Regions from separate parts of the Homo sapiens genome. Here region 1 is linked to region 2. The links are contacts of gene promoters, found by promoter capture Hi-C in human tissues and cell types (Jung and others, 2019). All regions are on one chromosome and are shown on one strand. The core of a region is centred on a gene start or on the middle of the fragment in contact, and the rest is flanking DNA. Distances in the headings are between cores, read along the strand shown. Region 1 overlaps ITGAE (integrin subunit alpha E). Region 2 holds the start of CAMKK1 (calcium/calmodulin dependent protein kinase kinase 1).

Region 1 (3,895 bases), core at 1,038-3,537, 130 kb before region 2:
TCCCGAGCCACAGCCACATTCTCACCCCCATTCCAGAACTCAGTGGCTCAACCAGGCAGGGGGCACAGGAAGAGCTGGCCCACCCCTCACCGGGTGTAGGAGTCAGTGTTGGCATCAAGGCCGAGGCCGACACCTGCAGGAGTGTGCTGGGTCACAGGGAATACCTAGGTCAGCCCTGGTATCAGGGTGGTCAGAGCTACAGTCAGCCCTGGGGTTGGCACCAGGGAGACGCTAGACTCAGCCTCGGGAACAGCATGGCAGTCAGAACTGGTCTCAACACCAGGGTCAACCACGAGGGCTAGCACCAGCCTCCCTAAGGCCCTCCCTCCTCTCGCTCCTGCACTCACCAAAACACCGTGGTGGCTCCGGACAACGGTCACTCCCCGGTGCCTCCCCTTGGGGATGGGGACATGCTCTGAAAAAGTTAAGCCCAGGTGAGGAGGAGGAGGGGACTCTGGGAGGCAGAGACCCGAAGCCAAGGTCAGAGGGCACAGAGCCACCTTGGTCAGGCCCCCATGAGGAACTGTTGGCCACTCAGAGAAGCCTCTAGAAAGCTAGAGCGGGGGCCTTCAAGGTCAGGACTGGACACGTTCAGGGCCGAGTGCCCATCCCCGGGGCTCATTTGCTGACCCTTTCAACACGTGCCCATTGACGTCTGCTCTGTGCCCAGCCTTGTGAGCGTGGTGATGGGCGTCCAGCAACAGCGGATGCCTGCTGCTTTTCCTCAGTGGGTTTGGTCGGGCAGGTGGGTGGAGAAGCACTGCCTGGTGGGTATGTAAGTGCCAAGGAATGTGCAAGATACCGTGGGACTGGCTGTGTGGACCAAGGAACCCCCCAGCCTCACAGACCCATCCTGGGGAATCTTACTGCCCCCAGCCTCAGGGGCAGAAATGGTAGCTCCTTCCTCGTCCTCCCCACTGTCAGCCTCAGGATACTGTCTTATTTTTCAGTCATGGAATCACTCAGTCAACCCTGCTGGACTGAGATTGAGTCTGTTCAACTCAGTGCCTCTCAGACAAGGATTTTTTTTTTTTTTTTTTTTTTTTTTGAGACAGAGTCTTGCTCTGTCGCCCAGGCTGGAGTGCAGTGGCGCAATCTCGGCTCACTGCAAGCTCCGCCTCCCAGGTTCACGCCATTCTCCTGCCTCAGCCTCCTGAGTAGCTGGGACTACGTGTGCCCGTCACCACACCTGGCTAATTTCTTTTTGTATTTTTAGTAGAGACGGGATTTCACCGTGTTAGCTAGGATGGTCTCGATCTCCTGACCCATGATCGGCCCACCTCAGCCTCCCAAAGTGTTGGGATTACAGGCATGAGCCACCGTGCCTGGCAGGATTTTTTTTTTTTAAACAGTCTTGCTCTGTTGCCCAGGCTGGAGTCCAGTGGTGCAATGTCAGCTCACTGTAACCTCCACCTCCTGGGTTCAAGCGATTCTTCTGCCTCAGCCTCCCAAATAGCTGGGATTGTAGGCATGCACCACCACGCCTGGCTGATTTTTGTATTTTTGGTAGAGATGGGGTTTCATCATATTGGCCAGGCTGGTCTCGAACTCTGGACCTCAAATGATCTACCCGCCTTGGCCTCCCAGTGTGCTAAGATTACAGGCGTGAGCCACGGCGCCCAGCCTCAGACAAGACAAGGATTCTATTTATTTATATATATATAGCCAAGAGGTTGTCAGTAAATCTGTGACCTGAGTTTGACTGGGTAGGATGGATAGAGTTTAATGAGTGAATCAGGTTCATTCATTCATTCATTCATTCATTCATTCAAATGGCATTTATTGAGTACCTAATATATGTCAGGCCCCATGCTAGTTACTAGGGTGGCCACAGTTAGACTGAATATGTAGGGGGTGAATTGCACTGAGGTGTGATGACTTGCATCAGGAAGGGCTAGAGTTTCGAATCAGCCACCAACACTAAAAGTGTGAACTTTGTCATACTGGCAACCAAAAGACCTACATTCTCTGAACTGTAGCTTCCTCTCTTATAAATGGCGCGGTTTTGAGGATGAAAACAGAATGACTCAGAGGACTGCCGGGCACAGGGTGGGCACGCAATACGCTGTAGGTATCATTTCTGTTGCTAGGACTGTGTCAGGAAAGGTGGCTGGGGATTAGGATTGGGTTGGGGTGGGACTGGGCATTGGGATGGAATCTTGCTGTGGGTTATGCTGGAGTCTAGGGGTGAACGGGCTGGATGAGGCAGGGCTGGGGTTGGAATGGTTTGAGTTTAGATGAGGGGGATTTTGCTAGAAAGGGGGTCCTGGGGAGCATTCCCTGGAGTTGGGGCTGACTTACCTACAGGATGGCAAAGGATTTCATCCTGGACAAGGGAACATCGATGGAGGGGCCCTGGTGTCCTCTTGGTTCTGGGGCTGGTGACCAGGAGCCTGAGTGGGAGGGGAGGTTGCAAAGCTGAGCTGGCTGATGTTCCTCGTCTTCTCCCTGCCTGCCCAGCACCCTTCCCATTCCAGTTGCCTGCACTCACAAGCTCCCTGTCTGGCCGGCAGATTCCTAGCCCAGACTCTGGATTATGGGGAAGACATTTGCCCAACCTCTGCTTCTACACAGCACCAGGCAGGAAATGGTTAAATGCAACCCCTCTCTGCCTGCTGCCCACCCTGACAAAGAAGGGGTGATACTGATGGTTAATAAAAACTCTGCTCTCTTATGGGGACAGGGATGGGGAGGCCAGAAAACCACCAGCGTTGGGGTTGGTTCTGTTGGGGGCAGTGCTGGCTTCCTCGTGGGCCACCCAGGGGGCCTGCCCTGCCTGGCCTTAGTTCCTGAGAAGAGTACGCTGGTGCCCCTATCCTGTGGGTCAGTCAGAACTGGAGGTTTGGAGGCCGGGCGCGGCGGCTCACGCCTGTAATCCCAGCACTTTGGGAGGCTGAGGCAGGTGGATCATCTGGGGTCAGGACTTTGAGACCAGCCTGATCAATATGGTGAAACCCCGTGTCTACTAAAAATACAAAAATTAGCCGGGCATGGTGGCGTGTGCCTGTAGTCCCAGCTACTCAGGAGGCTGAGGCAGGAGAATTGCTTGAACCTGGGAGGCAGAGGTTGCAGTGAGCGGAGATCACGCCACTGCACTCCAGCCTGGGGGACAGAGTGTGACTTCGTCTCATAAATAAATAAATAAATAAAAGAACTGGAGGTTTGGGGGTGGCTGCCTCAGCCTGATTAAGGCAGCCTCAAGAGCTGCGCCTCCTGACTGCAAACTTCTTGCCCCCACCCAGGCCCAGTCCAGGGAGACGGCAGATTCCAGGGACAGCCTCAACATTCTCACCATCCACGTTACCCAGGAGAACTGGGCTGTCCTGAGACAGACAGTGAGCTCCGGGGGTTGTCATAGGGGATGGTGGGGAGGGGACGAGGGGCTTGGTGGTTAACAGTGAACCAAGTCCAAGGTCTTTCTGCAGAGGGCAGTAGAAGTCATGGAGGACTTTATAAAGGGGAAGCACATGATTAGCTGTGCTTTCAAAAGCTCATGATGAGGCCGGGCGCGGTGGCTCACGCCTGTAATCCCAGCACTTTGGGAGGCCGAGGCAGGCAGATCACGAGGTCAGGAGATCGAGACCATCCTGGCTAACATGGTGAAACCCCGTCTCTACTAAAAATACAAAAAATTAGCCGGGCGTGGTGGCGGGTGCCTGTAGTCCCAGCTACTCGGGAGCCTGAGGCAGGAGAATGGTGTGAACCCAGGAGGCAGAGGTTGCAGTGAGCCGAGATCACGCCACTGAACTCCAGCCTGGGTGACAGAGCGAGACTCTGTCTCAAAAAAAAAAAAAAAAAAAAAAGGTCATGATGTGGCTACAGTGGGTTGGGACAGACTAAAGAGCACAGGAAGGTGGGGCAGAAATGAGATACCGTCTCCACTTCCTCAACTCCT
Region 2 (3,978 bases), core at 454-2,953:
AGAAAAATACAGCCGAGTAAGAAGGATCAAGAGAAAGGGGCTGGGAGATGCTGCTGATACAGTGTAGTTGAGGAAGGCCTTTTGGGAGCAGGACTGGAGCAGACACCTGAAGGAAGGAAGGGGCAGTAGGCAGTGTAGTTATCTGGGGAAGAGCATTTCAGGTGCAGGGACCAGCAGGTGCAAACGCCATGAGGGGACAGTGCTTGCTCAGTATGAAGAACAGCAGGGAGGCTGACGTGGCTGGAGTGGAGTCTTCCCCACATAAGAGGCACCTGATAGCAAGAGGAGTTACATCTGGAGAGAAAGCCCCCTCACTCATTGTGCTGGCCTCAGGGATGGCTTCCTAGAGGAGGTGGCACCTGAGCTCTCTTCTGAGCACTGAGCAGGATTTCAGGATGAGGCGAGGATGGAAGTTTGCACTGTGCATATAGGAGAGTCATTTCCTGGCTGGGACTCCGGGCTTGGTTTGGGGGTGGGGAGAGCTTGGTGGACAGAGCCCAGGAGGCCCCCAAAGCCAGGGGGAGGTTGTGAGCAGGGGAGTGCCTCGGTTAGGTGAGGTTTAAAACGACTCCCATGGCTGCTGTGAGGACTGACGGTGGGAGACCGAGGAAGAGGCGAAGGGTCCCCAGAGTGTGTGCGCCTGGGACGCAGTGGGGGGTCAATTTGTATGTACTGGAGGAAAGAGGGCAGGGCTTGGGGAGGCCAGCGCCACTTCCCTGGGATCCTCCAGCGCGCACAGGCTGTGTGCCCCTCCCACACTCCTGTGCCCGCCCTGCGGACACCACCAAGGCCCGGTCCTGTGGCCTGTGACACAGCCTTCTCTGCACAGCCCTGCAACGCCAAGACTTGAGCACACCCCCTCCCCTGACAGGCACACGCCCGTGTCCGCGTGACCCGCCCTCACACACCACTCCATCCTGTCCTGCACCCCCCACGCAGACACAGGCACACTCCCGCGTCCACGTGACACACGCACACCCGCCTCCAAACAGCACACGCAGGTCCCTGCGCACGTGGACACCCCCCCAGCCACCAGCCCTGCGCCTCCCGGGCCCCGAAGCCGCAGCGCCCGCCTCTGCCGCCCCCTCTCGCCCCAGCCAAGGCAGGACCCTGCGCAGCCTGAGCCGCGCGCCGCCGCCGCCCCATTCATCTCCCACCCCGCCCCCGGCTCCTGCAGGAAGACGCTCCGGCGGGCCGTGGGAGGAGCGCTCCGCGGAGAACCGCACGTGGGTGCCCCGGGCCGGGCCCACTCCGCACAGACGTGGCCTCCACCAGGAGCCGGGCGCGGGGGACAGTGCACCGGGGATGGATGCGGTCCGCAGACAGAAGCGGGGAAGAACGCAGACGGCGGGGCACCCGCGGCGATGCGGTCCCGGCGGCCGGCGCAGACCCGAGCAGACTCCGCGAGGCACCCCGCAGACCCGGCCCCGCAGACAGAAGGGGAAGGATCCCCGCCCTGACCAGATCCCAGCTCCCTCGTAGACGCGGCCTGGCAGACCCCCCCCGCCTCTCCCTTGCAGGCTCGGGGCAGGTGTTAAGGCGTTCGTCCTCCTGCTCCTCGCCCGCGTCCCCGCCCCGCCGATCCCTACCTGGGCGCCGGGCGACAGTGTCCGCGGCCCGGCGGGCGGCCCCACTCGCTCCTGCTGCGCGCCCCGCCCCGCCCCGCCCCGCCCCACCGCCTCGCTGGGGCCCAGATCGCCGAGCTCAGCCCGCGGGCGCCGCGGCTCCGGGCAGCGCTCGCTGCCCCGCCCACCGCCGCGCCCGGCCGGCGCTCATTGGTCGGAGCGAACGGCCCCGCCAGCGCCGCCCAATCGGAGCCCGGGACTCCCGCCCCCTCCTGGACTAAGGGACCGCGGTGGGCGGCGCGGTAGGGGCCCTCCCTCCCCTGCGGCGGGGCCGACCTCGCCACGCCCCCGGCGTCCTGGGGTCCCCGAAGTCCCTCCCGGCCGCGGCGTGGGCCCTTCTCCTGGGCCTGCAGGGGACCGTGCTTCCCCGCCAAACCCTTTGCGCCCCCATCCCGGCCTGCAGGAGCCAGAGCGCCCCTCCCTCCCGGGCGAGGCGCGGTGCGTGCGAGGGAGGGGCGAGGCCCGGGGAGGAAGGCCTTGAATGGCAGGCCCAGGAGTGTAGCTTCTGCGGGGCGGGGGCAGAGAGGCCGAGAGGTGGCTTAGCACAGAGTGAAGTGCTTGCTCGGTGAGCCGGCGACAGGAATGGCCTAGCGAGGGCCGAGGGAGTAGAGGGAACTCAGCAGGACAGTGAGGTGACCTTCGCTGTGGCTGTTCCTGGGGACTCTGCCGCCACCTCTTCCCCTAACGCCTCCGCGTGTGAATCCTCTGGCACCACCACTTGCCCCATATCCTTCCCCCAAATCTAACCTCCTGCGTCCCTGTCTCGAAGTGGAGCCAGGAGCCTGGGAGTCACCTGCTGCCTCCCTGTTTCCTGCTCCAACCAGTCCATCTCCAGGCCCTGCCATACTGCCTCTTAACTATCCCTGGAATCGGCCCACTCCTCTCCACCCCACTTCCCCTCCCTTAGCTCAGGCTACCACCATCTTGTCCCTGATTGCTGCAGCAGCCTCCTCCCTGGCCTCCAGCCCCATCCAGTCTCACCTCCTACTAGCCTTTCTCTCCCTGGCACCCAGAGCAAGTTTTCAGGAACACAAGTCCACCGAGAGGCATTTTCTATGGCTCACCGTGAGAATAGGTCTAATCAAGCCCTGTATAGCCTTACTCCCAGCCACCTGCCTGTTTAACGCCTACTCGTCTTTCAGGGTTCAATTCAATCCTACTTCTGCCTGGAAACCTTCTCCATGACCTCCCCACTTCCAGCATGGGTTAGTGGCCCCACCCAGGTACTTCCTTGTACCTGGCATCTGTTTACCTGCTGGTTCCTCATTGGGACTGGGAGCTCCTGGATGGCAAGCACTGTGCCTGATTCGTCCAGCACACAGCCTGTCGCATGGCACAGGTGCTCAGTGGATGTTGTTGAATGAATAATTCCAGCAACTTGAGTGTGGCTTTTGACCTCATGGTTCAGGATACCAGCTAGAGCTCCAGCAATCACATAACGCATTCCAGGCAGTGGAGTGGAGAAAAGGATGAAGAAGAGGGCAGAGGGTCTGCACCAGCTCTCTTTTCAGGAAAGTTCCCAGAAGTTGCCACGTGGCACTTTCACATACACCGCTTGAGCTTACTTAACATGACCAGACCCAGCTGCAAGAGAAAGCTGGGAAATGCAGCTTCCATTCTGGGCAGCCACATGCCCAACCAAGAACCAAGGACTGAATTGCTACCGGGAGAACAGATATCCGGAACAACTAGTGGACTCCACCATTGAGAGGGTGGATAGATTGAGGGGCAGAGCTCGACTGTATGCCAGGTGCTGTTTACAGGTCTTTCCTCAACCCTACTAAAAGCTATTATTGTCCGGGTGCAGTAGCTCATGCCGGTAATCCCAGCCCTTTGGAAGGCTGAGGTGGAGCGTATCATTTGAGCCCAGGAGTTTGAGAACAGCCTGGTCCACATAGTGAAACTCTGTCTCTATTTAAAAAAAAAAAAAAAAAGAAGTTGTTATTATCCTTGACTCACAGAGGAGGCTTGGAGAGTTAAGCCACTTCCCCCAAGGACACACAGTGAACTGTGGCAGAGCTGCAATTGAAACCTGTCTTTTCCTTGCACGCCAGACAGGCTGGGAAGTCAGGAAAGGGTGTGTCCTAGGAGCTGCTGGAAGGAAATCTTTCGACAAGGAAGGCTTGGACAACAATGTGAGAAGCTGTCAGGCCAAGCAGGATATGGGGCCCAAGTGTCTGCTTAAGACTTGGCAACCAGGACACTGCCAGTGACCTTGGCAAGGGCACCTAGGAGAAGTGGTTGGGGTGGAGGCCAATTGCAGAGGGAAGTGTGGACTGGTCTTTCTGGAAGGGTTGCAGTGAGGGGAGAGGGGCAGAGCTGCTGGGGAACCTGGGCCAGGAGGAGGCAGAAG

The links. Contacts are between HindIII fragments. The study calls those that stand out against the background at their distance.
Region 1: a contact is called between a fragment that was not itself captured here and the fragment with the promoter of CAMKK1 in region 2, in 2 of the 25 tissues and cell types used here (adrenal gland and lymphoblastoid cells).

The regions. Positions count from the first base shown.
Region 1 is chr17:3,761,568-3,765,462 of GRCh38, forward strand. It overlaps ITGAE (integrin subunit alpha E), which reads right to left. Exons shown (of 31, transcript NM_002208.5): 3 at 2,302-2,393; 4 at 348-415. Among named protein-coding and RNA genes, the nearest start is that of ITGAE, 38 kb to the right of the region's middle. RefSeq lists an enhancer at 2,112-2,211. The HindIII fragment of the contact is 6,528 bases long and covers 1-3,895 here.
Region 2 is chr17:3,891,350-3,895,327 of GRCh38, forward strand. It overlaps CAMKK1 (calcium/calmodulin dependent protein kinase kinase 1), which reads right to left and starts at 1,704. Exons shown (of 16, transcript NM_032294.3): 1 at 1,590-1,704. RefSeq lists silencers at 1,011-1,260, 1,401-1,580, 1,611-2,150. The HindIII fragment of the contact is 23,333 bases long and covers 1-3,978 here.